4 separate regions of the Homo sapiens genome follow, and regions 1, 3 and 4 are each linked to region 2. Evidence: promoter capture Hi-C in 16 types of primary human blood cells and fetal thymus (Javierre and others, 2016). All regions are on one chromosome and are shown on one strand. The core of a region is centred on a gene start or on the middle of the fragment in contact, and the rest is flanking DNA. Distances in the headings are between cores, read along the strand shown. Region 1 has its middle 4.3 kb from the start of POLR2F-AS1. Region 2 holds the start of KCNJ4 (potassium inwardly rectifying channel subfamily J member 4). Region 3 overlaps BAIAP2L2 (BAR/IMD domain containing adaptor protein 2 like 2). Region 4 holds the start of SLC16A8 (solute carrier family 16 member 8).

Evidence for each region. Contacts are between HindIII fragments. The CHiCAGO score rates a contact against its expected background, and 5 or more counts as called.
Region 1: a contact is called between a fragment that was not itself captured here and the fragment with the promoter of KCNJ4 in region 2, in 3 of 17 cell types (erythroblasts, M1 macrophages and endothelial precursors). The highest score is 6.8, in erythroblasts.
Region 3: a contact is called between a fragment that was not itself captured here and the fragment with the promoter of KCNJ4 in region 2, in 1 of 17 cell types (erythroblasts). The highest score is 5.0, in erythroblasts.
Region 4: the fragment with the promoter of SLC16A8 here is called in contact with the fragment with the promoter of KCNJ4 in region 2 in 13 of 17 cell types (erythroblasts, monocytes, naive B cells and 10 more); the score reaches 10.6 in erythroblasts.

Annotation. Positions count from the first base shown.
Region 1 is chr22:38,028,473-38,031,434 of GRCh38, forward strand. It overlaps a transcript of POLR2F not described here. Among named protein-coding and RNA genes, the nearest start is that of POLR2F-AS1, 4.3 kb to the right of the region's middle. RefSeq lists enhancers at 1-455, 2,550-2,962. The HindIII fragment of the contact is 1,038 bases long and covers 893-1,930 here.
Region 2 is chr22:38,453,734-38,456,462 of GRCh38, forward strand. It overlaps KCNJ4 (potassium inwardly rectifying channel subfamily J member 4), which reads right to left and starts at 1,466. Exons shown (of 2, transcript NM_152868.3): 1 at 1,247-1,466. The HindIII fragment of the contact is 17,538 bases long and covers 1-2,729 here.
Region 3 is chr22:38,100,971-38,104,008 of GRCh38, forward strand. All of the region lies in intron 4 of BAIAP2L2 (BAR/IMD domain containing adaptor protein 2 like 2), which reads right to left. Among named protein-coding and RNA genes, the nearest start is that of BAIAP2L2, 8.2 kb to the right of the region's middle. The HindIII fragment of the contact is 3,305 bases long and covers 1-2,910 here.
Region 4 is chr22:38,082,851-38,085,816 of GRCh38, forward strand. SLC16A8 (solute carrier family 16 member 8) reads right to left here and starts at 1,334. Exons shown (of 6, transcript NM_013356.3): 1 at 1,138-1,334; 2 at 192-511; 3 at 1-31. The coding sequence starts at 23. BAIAP2L2 (BAR/IMD domain containing adaptor protein 2 like 2) reads right to left here. Exons shown (of 14, transcript NM_025045.6): 13 at 2,836-2,882; 14 at 2,050-2,525. The coding sequence ends at 2,450. RefSeq lists an enhancer at 818-1,599. The HindIII fragment of the contact is 1,274 bases long and covers 1,222-2,495 here.

The DNA.
Region 1 (2,962 bases), core at 162-2,661, 430 kb before region 2:
CATGCATCTGTGTGTGCGTGTGTGTGTGTGCGTGTGCGTACGTGTGTGTGCATGTGTGTGTGCGCATACGTGTGTGCATGTATGTGTGTGCATACGTGTGTGCATGAATGTGTGTATGTGTGTGCCTATGTGTATGCACGTGCATGTCTCTGGGTGTGCTTGGGAGATAGAGAAGAAAGCAGAAATTGGGGAGAGGACAGCGGCCACATAGCCACTGTGTCCCTCTGTGGGATGGGGAGGAAGGGGCAGCAGCAACAGCCTGTCCCGCTCCTGCACACACACCCTCTGAAGGTCTGAGTGAAATAGGCAGAGAATGGGATGTGGCTGTTTGTCCTGGGGGCTTTAGGGGACCCTCCACCCGCACTGTGATAGGCAGGCAGCTCCCAGGCCTGTCTGAACAGGAACTCTGCCAGCTCTCCAAAGGCCCTGCAAGCCCCGGCCACTCCATCACAGCTCATTGATGGGCACTTATGGGTGCTGACTGTGCACTTGGCTGGTGAGCCAGGCCTGGAGTGGGCAGGAGAGGCTTCTGAAAGGGTTTCAGAGGAGTCCACAGTCTGAGAGAAGAGAACACCCTGAAAAAGGGAGTTCAGGGGTCTGAGGAGAGACTGCTGTGGTCTGCAGGGTGAGGTGGTGCTGGTGAAGGCAGCCGAGGAAGGGGCGTCACCCACTGGAAGGCTTGCAGCTTAGGGAAGGAGACTTGAAGATTAGAGATGGATAAGGAGTGGGGCATATCACAGAATCCCAGAATAGGAGATGCAGAATGTCTTTGGAAATGACCCCGTCTAAGTCTGGCTTATCCAGAGGGGAAAACTGAGGCCCAAGGATAGTGGAGGATGACTTGGCTGACAGTGATGGAGTCATTTCAAGTTAGTTCAACAAGCACCTCCTAAGCTTGTTGGGCACCAGCCTGAGGATAAAGCCTTAAATAAGGCTCTGTCTCCTCTGGCTATGGTCTAGTGGGGTGATGGACAGACAGATAAGCACTACCCTGTGCCATGAGTGCAATGATCAGTGTGTGCAGGGCACAGGGGCAAGGGGGTAATGGAGGACTTCTAACTGGCAAGACCTCTCAATGGAGGCAGCACCTGGGATGGGTTTTGAAGGATGCAGAGGAGTTTGAGACTGACCACAGAATGAAGGGATTGGTTTCCAGGTAACCTGGATGGTTCAAGTTGGTTTCTGTTTTTGCTACCTGTGAAGCAGTGACCAGTCTGTCCTCCATTAACACCCCATCATCTGGGAGACTGCAAGCAAGCTAGGGAAGGCAGGGGATTTTGGGGTGTCTCTGTCCTGAGGCAGAGGATTGGATGCAGGGTTTCCCAGGGTCTTAGCCTTCACCAAGGCACCATCAGGTCAGTCCTGGTTGTGGAGCCTTCGTCCACGCTCCCTCCCATTCAGCCAAGAAACATTGATTGAACACCAATTGTGAATGAGCCTTGCAGGCTGGAGATGATTTCAAGAGGCAGAGTTAGGGGAAAGGCATTTTGGGAAAAGGGAATAGCGTGAGCCAAGGTGAGGCTGTTGCAGCAGCAGGAAACTAAGGAAGCAAGGGCCTTTTCCACAAGCATCATCTGTTCTTGTTTGGCTCAAGCGTGGGGGCAGCAAGGGAACAGTTAAGATGCAGCTGGGAAGATTGCCTGGGCCTGAAGCTGGGGATGGAAAACCCAGGGGAGGAGTCTGGACTTTTATTGGTGGCAAGTGGGAGATATCAATGGATTTTGAGCAAGAACGACTCCCCGAAGATCCCCAGATAGGGCTGGGAGCTTGAGAGAACCCACAAGCCCCCTGGGGAGCCAGGAGTCGGGCCCTCTGGACAGTCATGTGCTGGTAAATATGCTTCACAACCAGCTCTGTTTGTGGAGGTGGGAGACACAGAGGTAGACTGCCAATTTTCATAGTGGAAAAAGTCCCATCAGGGCAGGCTCAAAGCTTCCAAGGTAATATCAACTGGCTTCGATTCCAGAGACTTTCACAGTTGGCTCTCGGGAGCCAGTGTGCGCTGACTCCAGCGCACTGCCACACCCTGGGTTATAAACTGTATTTGCCCAAGACTGCTAGTGCTCAACCCTCCTTCTCCCCGATCATTCCCATGGTGCCCTGCAAACCGGAGCCCGAGGATAGAAAAGTACTCTGTGGTTTGTCCAAGCCCAGGGGACCGCCATGGTCTGAGACCCCAGGCCTGTGGGTCTGAGACTTAGCTCAGCTGCTTATGCACTGGGTGATTCAGGCACATCCTCACTTCTCTGGGATGACTTGCTTTGCAGGGTCACTCCCGGGATAAGAAGAGGTCATGCAGTGGGGAGGTGTGGGTGGGGGCAGGGTTGTGCTGGGAAGGCCTGGGGAGCGTGGTCAGTGGTTCCCCGGGGATCAGGAACAGGCCCTCTCCCACCCCACCCCCAGCTCAGTTGCTGGACAAATCCATCAGATCAGTCGGCTGTCACCAGTAGGGGGTGGGAAAGGCAGGGTCTGTGAAATGAGGGGCCCTGGGACAGGACGAGGGCTGGAAGAGCTGTGAGAGGCCCTGGGCAAGAGGTAAGGAAGCAGGCTACAGACCACCAGCACTTCAGACCCTGCCAATGGAAAGACGGGTCTTGGCAAGTGTCGGTGTCGCCCCCTCCCTCCTTGTCCCTTGGGAAACTCCTACTACTCTGTCAGGCCTCAGCTCCAGCACACCTCTTCCAAGACGCAGGGGTTAAGAGCGAGAGTTTGGGTGTCATTCCATCTGCAGGGCCCTGGACAATCTGCTTCATCTTTTTCAAACTCATCTGTAAAATGCGGACAGTAATACCACAGAGCCTGCAGGATGGTTGCAAGGATTAAATGAGATGTTCTTGGCACGGAGGAGCCTACTTCTGACAACAAGGATGCCCTCGTTCCTTGGCTACTTCTCCTACCCACGTCCCCCCACAAGGTAGACTTGGCCCTCTGAGTCCTCACCACACCACCCTCTTAGCCCAGG
Region 2 (2,729 bases), core at 216-2,715:
GAGCTAATTTCTGGGAGGCTGAATGGAGGACATATGAGACCCACTGCCCAGTGTGGAACACCCCAGAAAGAGTCCCTCCTCCCAGTGAGAATGGAGTGGAATGTTCTAGGCTCAGCCCTTCCAACTCCAGTTGGGATATGGGTCAGTTCAGTGGCCAACAGTCTCTGTTCCCACCATGCTGCACCCATCTCTTACCCCAGCTGCCCTGGTCCACCTTTTGCTCCCCTCAGCACAGGCCAAGCCAGGGCCACAGTGAGGCTCTTGGGCCCCTAAAGTCCTGCTAACTGCCCCCAAAAGGCCTGAAGCCATGGAGGTCATGGGACTGGATGTGGGGGAGAACACACACACACACGGCTCCAACCCTTCTCTGGGCCTCCCTCCCTGAGTTCCCCACTTCCCCCAAACCTGCTGCTGAACATTCTACTGCTCTTGAGGCCCTGCTCTGTCAGCTGGCCAGGCTGCCCTGCCTCTAGCCCGCCGCTCCACCCCACCCAGCTTGCCACCTCCCAACTCCCTGCATCCTGTCCATCCTGAAGCAGGGACACTGGGGGCAGAAATGTGGGTAGGGGGCAGGGAGGCTGACACTGGTGGGGGGACATTTGGCAGGTTGCAGGGGAAGTTCTCCCTGCGGGAGGCTCATTGAGACCTCTCTTGCCTTGGGGTGCTCCCTACACACGGAGGAAAAAGCAGCCTCTGCCTCCCTCCCCAGCCTGTGTCTATCACTGTGAACGTGCAGTGCCTCCTCTACCAATCCCTGCCCCTGCGCCCTGGGGTCGTGTGGCGCCAAGTAGGTGCTCAAAACATGAGAAGTGAGATTTCGTTCTTCAGATCACAGGGCCATTTGCAACGAGGATGCAGCTGGGGAGGCGGAAAGGCGGCATCCCCCACCTTGCCACAAGTCACCTGCCTTGAAGCTCCCCGGCATGACAACTGGGGTGGGTGGAGGCAGGGAAAGGTCATGGCTGGGGCAGGAGGTCAAGACCCCTTCCACCCACCTCTCTCCCCCTTTCCAGGCCACAACCCAGACCGCGACGCTCCCAGACGGACAGACGGACAGAGCCCGCCCGTGGAGCCCGCCCGCTCCCGGGGAGTCACGGGACCGCGCGCGCGGCGCCGGGCAGCCGGGACCCGGCTCCGGATCAGGTGCGGAGCGGGCGGGGCCGGAGCGGCGGGCCCGGGACACACAGACACGCACGCGGCGGGACAAACTGACGGACAGCGCCCGGGGTGGGCGAGCGCGGCTTACCGCTGGGCGGAGGGTCCGACGAGAGTCCGGGAGGCGGCGAGCGGGCGCTACATCCCAAGGCGCGATCCGGCGGGCGGCGTCCCGGGCGCGGAAAGGGGAGTCCCGGCGCCCCCTGCCCGCGAACTCGGCCGGCCGGCCCGCGCTCCCCTCCCCGGCTGCCGCTCGGTCTGCGCGTGGGTCTTGGGGTCTCCGCGCGTCCCGGCCGTCCCGCGCCGCTCCCCGCGGGCCGCCCAACTTTCAGCGCTGCCCCGCGCCGCGCCCTCGGCGCCGCCTCGGCGTCAGCATCGTCGGGCCCGGCCGGGCTCACAGCGCGGGGGTCCGGGGGCCCGGGGCGCCCCGCCGCCCGCGCCCCCCACCCCCGCTGCAGGCGCCCTCCCCGCCGCCGTCCCCCGCTGCGCCCAGCTCCCTCGCTGTCACCCGCTCCTGCTCGCGCGCTCTGCCCCCGGCCCTGCGCTCCACTCCCGGCCCCGCTGCGCTCGGCCCCGGCCCCGCGACCCCTCGGCCTCCCGGCCTGGGGTCGCCCTCCCCGCCCCCGCCGGCCGGGCTCTGTCGCCACCTCCCCGACCGCTCTCGCGTCTCTCTCCTGCCGCCGGGGTCTCCGCCGCGCTCGCGTCCCGGTCCCTCTCCCGGCCTCCCTGCCTCCTGCGGCCCCGCTCGCCCTCTGCCCGCGGGGTCTCCGTCTCCGTCGCGGTCGCCCGCCGGCCTCCCCCCGCCTCCCTCTGCCCGCGCTGCCTCTCTCCCCTGCGCGTCTCTGTCCGTCTCCCTCGCGGCCCCTGTCCTTCTCTGTCTCTCCCCCTCCCACTCTCCGTGCGGCCCCCTCTGTCTCGGACCCCGGCCCCCGCCTTGGCCGCGTCCCCGGCTCGCCCGGGAGCCCGAGCTCCCGCCGCCCGCGGCGCGCCGAGAACTCCCAACTCGCGGCACGCCGCCCCGCTTTGCGAGACTTTCGCCCCTCCTCACACGTGACCCGCGCCCCACTGCGGAGGCCGCGCGCCCCCCAGCCCGGGAGCCCCGGCTGCCCGCGGGACCCCGCCCTGCCCGCCCCTCGGCCTAACCCGGCCTCAAGCCCCCTCCCGCGGGGCCCGCGGCGCGGAGCAGGGGCTGGGGCGGGGGGCTGCTGGCCCCGCTCCTGCCCTGGATCCTGCCCGGGTTTTCCTCCTCGCCCCAGGAGCGCTCCTCCCAGAACCCGTTCCTGGATCCGCTCCCGGGTTTTGTGCCCCCCCCCCAAAAGGGGGCAGGTGGAGAGGGTTCCTCCGAGCCGGGAAGGGGGGTGGGTGGGAGCTGGTCCCTCTGGGGTCCCACGGAGTCCGCCCCTCTCCTTAGCGGTCCTCGTACTCTCCCAAAGTACCGCCGGTCAAGGACCCGAAGCACCTCACTCTGGGAGTCTGAGGGGGCCCTATTGGAGGGACCCTCGCGATCACTCAGTCACCACTGCCCCATTTTACAGATGGCGAGACTGGGTACCAGAGAGGGTCAGAAACTCGGC
Region 3 (3,038 bases), core at 8-2,507, 350 kb before region 2:
CAAAAGGGACATAAGAGAACTTTCTGGGTTGATGGAAACGTTCTAAATAAATCCTGTTTAACATGGTGGCCACACAGGGCATACAATTGTCAAAATCTGTTGAACTTAACACTCAACATATTTAGGAACTTCATCTTATTGTATGTAAACTTTACCTCAGTAGAAAAAAAAACTCAGGTCTGGGATGATGGTGGAAATAAAATGTAGTTTCAAAACCTTCCTTCATCTTCTCCTAAAAATGAATGGAGAAACCAGACAGCAAAATAAAAAACTTAAGACTAGCCAGGCACAGTGGCTCACACCTGTAATTCCAGCACTTTGGGAGGCTGAGGTGGGAGGATTGCTCGAGCCCAAGAGTTCCAGACCAGCCTGGGCAACATAGTAAGATGCTGTCTCTACATAAAAAAAAAAAAAAAAAAAAAAAAAAAAAGCCAGACGTGGTGGTTCATGCCTGTGGTCCTAGCTACTTGGGAGGCTGAGGTGAGAGGATTGCCCGAGCCCAGGAAGTCTAGGCTGCAATGAGCTGTGACTGCACCACTGTACTCCAGCCTGGGTGACACAGTGAGATCCTGTCTCAAAAAAAAAAAAAAAAAAAAAAAAAGTCCAGGCACAGTGGCTCATGCCTGTAATCACAGCACTTTGGAAGGCCAAGGTGTGTGGATCACCTGAGGTCAGGAGTTTGAGACCAGCCTGGCCAACATAGTGAAACCCCATCTCTACTAAAAGTACATAAATTAGCCGAGCATGGTGGCACGCGCCTATAATCCCAGCTATTTGGGAGGCTGAGGCAGGAGAATCGCTTGAACCCGGGAGGCAGAGGTTGCAGTGAGCTGAGATGGCGCCATTGCACTCCAGCCTGGGTGACAGAGCAAGATTCCGTCTCAAAAAACAAACAAACAAACAAAACAAAACAAACAAAACCACCAAAAGAAAAAAATAAACTCAAGACAACATTCAGAACAAAACTATGACAGTATATCTCTACAACCCTCCAAACAAAAATCAGCACCGGCTGTGAGGTCAGTGTGACCAGCATCCATGTGGATGGAGCAGTGGGAGGTAGCTGGGCGTTGAGGGACCTGAGCACAGGTGCACCCCGACATGGCCAGCAGATGGTCATGGGAAGCTCAGTAGGCCAGTCTGTGAACAGCAGCTGAAACTCCAAGGAGTTTGTGAGTCCAAAGGGTGAAGGTAAGAGGTCCCTGGTAAAGTCTGAAGGGGCTGGAGTAGTCGAGCCTCTAGGAAGTCTTGAAACTGACCAGCCAGGCTCCCATCCAGACAGGGCCCATGTGGAGGAGAGAATGCCGTGAGGAGGATCAAAATCAGGAACAAGGACAACAGACACAAAAGGAAAGAGAAAGTCTAACAAAAGTAGGAGCATGAACGGAACCAGGAAATTGCAGAAAGGGAGCTGCCATATTTTTGGAAAACTACATAAGAACAACAGAAAGAGATCTTGCAAAGTGAGAAGAGCTGTCTTGACTGTGCTCCTTTTACAATTTCAGGAAAAAACCTACTTTTCCACAGACAATCTCTGAGGTGAAATCCAATAGAAAGTTATTATTAGAAAAAAGAGAATATGGAAGAGAATAACATTCCTACTGACAACCAAAACACACCAGAAAGGCCCATGAAACAGAAGAAAATGAATCAATGGTCTAAAAGTGATCCTAGCACTTTGGGAGGCCCAGATGGGAGGACTGCTTGAGGCCAGGAGTTCAAGACCAGCCTGGGCAACATAGTGAGACCTCATCTCTATAAAAAGAGTTTAAAAATTATCCAGGCACGGCCGGGTGCGGTGGCTCACACCTGTAATCCCAGCACTCTGGGAGACCAAGGCGGGTGGATCACGAGGTCAGGATATCAAGACCATCCTGGCTAACACGGTGAAATCCCGTCTCTACTAAACATACCAAAAAAAAAAAATTAGCCCGGCATGGTGGCAGGCGCCTGTGGTCCCAGCTACTCGGGAGGCTGAGGCAGGAGAATGGCGTGAACCTGGGAGGCGGAGCTTGCAGTGAGCCGATATCACACCACTGCACTCCAGCCTGGGAGACAGAGTGACACTCCATCTCAAAATTAAAAAAAAAAAAAAATTAGCCAGGCACGGTGGCATTTTCTTATAGTCCCAGCTACTTGGGAGGCTGAGGCAGGAAGATCATTTGAGCCCAGGAGTTGGAGACTGCAATGAGCTATGATTGTACCACTGCACTTCAGCCTGGGTGACAGAGTGAGACTCTGCCTCTGAAAATAAATAAATAAATAAATAAGATGAATTTGTCCAGCAGCAATAGAAATAAAGAGACAGAGCGAGAGAATATGTGTTATATGTGTGTACACACACATTGCATATAAATATGTATCCATCTATGCGTTGCACAGCCACCAAAAAAGCCTAGAAACAAAGATCAAGCCAGTGGCAATGAGCACCACTAGTATTCAGATTATGGCTTTGAAATACCACTTGCACTAAAAACAAAAAGTAAAAACAGGGCTTCATGAAGAAATGGCTCATTCCATGTCTCACACAGCACAAGTAGCAGATAAGCCTGGAACCTCTTGTCAGGCAGATAGCAAGGACTCAGGAGGCAGATTAAAGAGGCTTCCAATGGCCAGGTGCAGTGGCTCACACCTATAATCCCAGAACTTTGGGAGGCTAAACTGGGCAGATCATCTGAGGTTAGGAGTTCGAGATCAGCCTGGCCAACAAGGTGAAACCCCGTCTCTACTAAAAATATGAACATTAGCTAGATGCAGTGTTGCATACCTGTAGTCCCAGCTACATGGGAGGCTGAGGCTGGAGAATTGCTTGAACCTGGGAGGCGGACGTTGCAGTGAGCCGAGATTGCATCACTGTACTCCAGCCTCGGTGACAGGGTGAGACTCCATGTCAAAAAAAAAAAAAAAAGAAGCTTCCACTGGCCAAAAATAGGACATTTTCAACTTCAGTAAACGTAATAATTGCCAACCATTGAAATAGGTCAAATGAGTTTAAATCTACGATATTGATTATAGTAAATAAAAGTACTACATAATGG
Region 4 (2,966 bases), core at 84-2,583, 370 kb before region 2:
CGCCGGGGGCCGCCAGCGCCCATCGCTGCCTCTGTTGGGAGGGGGCGGGGACAAGAGGGAGGGGCTGGGCCAGCAGCCTAGAGAAGGAGGGGGATGGAGACGAAGCATGGGGAAACTGAGGCACAGGGCTACCCACGTGAGGGTGGCTCAGGTCTGGGAACCAAAAGGGGAAACGGAGGTAGGACTCTCACCCCAAGTCTCCTTCTCCTGCAAAGGGCGCTGAAGGACGAGGGGAGGACGACGGGTCCCACCTGACTCTGCACCTCTGCAGGCTCCCTCTGAAGGACAACTGCTGGCCCCTCAGGGCCTCAGGTGGAAGGCGTCGGGAAGTGGAGCAGGTATGTGCCTGGAGGTGGGCGTCCAGCACCAAAGTCGCCCCGTACGCGTGAGGGTCTCGGGACAACAGAACAAACAGCAGAGGGGCAGATGCCGGCTGCAAAGGGCCGCTGTGCGTGATTTTCCTCTTTAGCCTTCCGCCATGTTCCTAATGTTTCTCAGTGATCACAAATGACTATTGTCATTAGAACATTAAGGGGACAAAAGCCACTTTCAACAGATATCAGCCAGGGGAGCTGAGTTCCCATGCATCTCAGCTCAGCCATGGATTCCCTCCCTGACTTGGGCCGGTCGCCTCCCCTCTCCCAACCTCCCTTTCCTCCGATGTAAGATGGGTGATTGATCACCCCGAGGCCAGCTGGGAATCTTGCGGGAGAGGAGTCAGGTCTCTGGCTTCTGCCAGACAGGTAGGAACCTTAGCAGCACTGAGAGAGTGGCCTTCTGCCCTCCAAACCTCAAACCCTCTATATGAAAAGAATGGCTCCAAAGCCTGTCTCATTCCTGGGGCTCCACCCGGGGCCCTCACAGCAGTTACAAGCGCCCCCATAACAGATGAGGAGGGTGTACTCAGAGACAGGTGCACCAGGAGCCGGGGGCTGGGGATAGCCTCCTGCCCTCCTGCCTGGAGTGTCCCTCCTGGCACTGGGCAGTGCCACCACCCCCAGGGTATCCGGGACTCTGCCCCTCCTCCACTAGGACCAGGTTGTGGCTTTTCCTGCCTGTTGTCCTCTTGTCACAGGGGCAGCCACTTGAAGGTGGAGACAGGAGGGTGATCCCAGGCAGCCCTCACATCACACTCACCTGAGCCTGCCTCGTGGGTTTGGGGGTCCAGCCTCACATCTCCTGAGGCCTGCAGGGAGGGGCCGCCGCCGCAGCTCCCGGTGAAGCTTACCCGGATGGGGGCTGCCAGACACCCCAGCTTCCCACCAGCCTGGGCTGAGCCTCTGGCCGACTCCCGCCTGACGCTCCCTGCCCCAGGCCTGGAGCTTAGAGTGTGTGCCCCCACCACACCTCACCCCTGCTAAGAGGCTTTTGTCCAGGAGGGGAGAAGAGACTGGGAGCCCCAGGCCAGGCTGGGCCTCGGCGGTGGGCTCCCTGTCCCAAGCCAGTCCAGGAGGGAGGAAGAGAATCCCTGTGCCTCCTGGAGCCTGGGGTGGTAGACACAGAGACCTTGCCCAGGGGGTCCTAGTCTGGTGCTGGGGGCACAGCCCTGCCCTGAAGAGACCCCAACGGTTCTAATCACCTCAGTGCCTCATCTGCCCCCGCCCCAACCCCCCGCCCCAGGCCACATTCCAGGAGGGGCTGGCAGCTTTCTCTAGAATGAAGCTAATCCACGCCTGTGCCTGGGAATGTGGGGGGGGGAGGGGCCAAAACAAAGGGTGCTGTGTCCAGGCCGCCTGAGGGCAGCTTGCTGGTGGTCCCAGCCCTTGGCCACTGCCACCTCTCCCCTGACCCGAGCAGCCGCTACTTCCTAGGAAACCCACAGGTCGAAATGAGAGCAGGTGGAGATGGGGGCTGCAGCGCGAGGGCTTTGGGGCAGCCCTAAAGAGTTCTCCAAACAAACAAACAAGGGGCTGGGAGTGAGATGGCTTCCCGGGGAACAGCCAGGACCTCAGTACCCCCTAGACCCCATTCTCCAATGGGGGAGTCTCTATCCCTCACCCCCTGCCCTGTCCCCCAAATAAGACACCACCAGTCCTGCTGCCGCATCACTTTGCGTCCACTTCCTTTATTTCTCATCATTTACAAAAGATGTACAGAGAGGGCATGTGTTGGGCACGGAGCAGGTACAAGGGGCTCCTCCCCACGGGGGCAGAAAAGGGGGAAAGAGGTTAGGGGGCAAGAGGTGGGCCCCCCAGGGAGAGTCCTGGAGCCCCTGGAGGGGGAGAAATTGTCCTGTCCCCCCATTCCGCCTGCTTTACTTTGAAGGTCTCGGACCCCAAGCCAGTGCTTTGGAGCTGCTCAGGCTGCCGGGGTGGTCTGGGGAGGGCAGCCACCCCCCGTCTCAGGGACCCGCTTCTTGGATCTGCTGCTGTTGCTGCTGTCGCTGCCATTGCCAGCTCTGAACAGCCCCTGGGCAGGTGCACTGTGGGGTACGACCTCGGACCCCGCCTCAGCGGATGAGGGGTGCTGAGCGGTCATTGGTGATGGTGGGACGAAGCTTGACAGTGGCAAAAGGATTTGTGCCCCTGTAGGAGGAGAGAGAGAATGGGGTGAGAAGGGCAGATGATCCCCACCTGGCCATGGCTCAGGAAGGCAGCTGGGCAACTGAGCTGGGTCCTGCCTCCTGCCCCTATTTGGTCTCCATCCACTCCTTGCCCCGCTTCATCTTTTTTTTTCTTTTAAGAGATAGGGTCTCACAGTGTTGCTCAAGCTGATGTTGAACTGTTGGAATCAAGAGATCCTCCTGCCCCAGTCTCCCTAGTAGCTGGGACTACAAGTGTGTGCCGCCGCACCTGCCACCCTCCTCACTGTTTGGGCCCCCATGTGAGGACTCACCTCGGGAAGAGCTCCTGTGGTGGGTACTGCTCTGAGGACATCAGTTTCTGCAGTGGGGGTGGGGAAGGGCTGGTTTGGTGGGGAGAGGGGCAAGCAATCCCTTGCTCCTCCCCTCCCTCTCCCCATGCCCA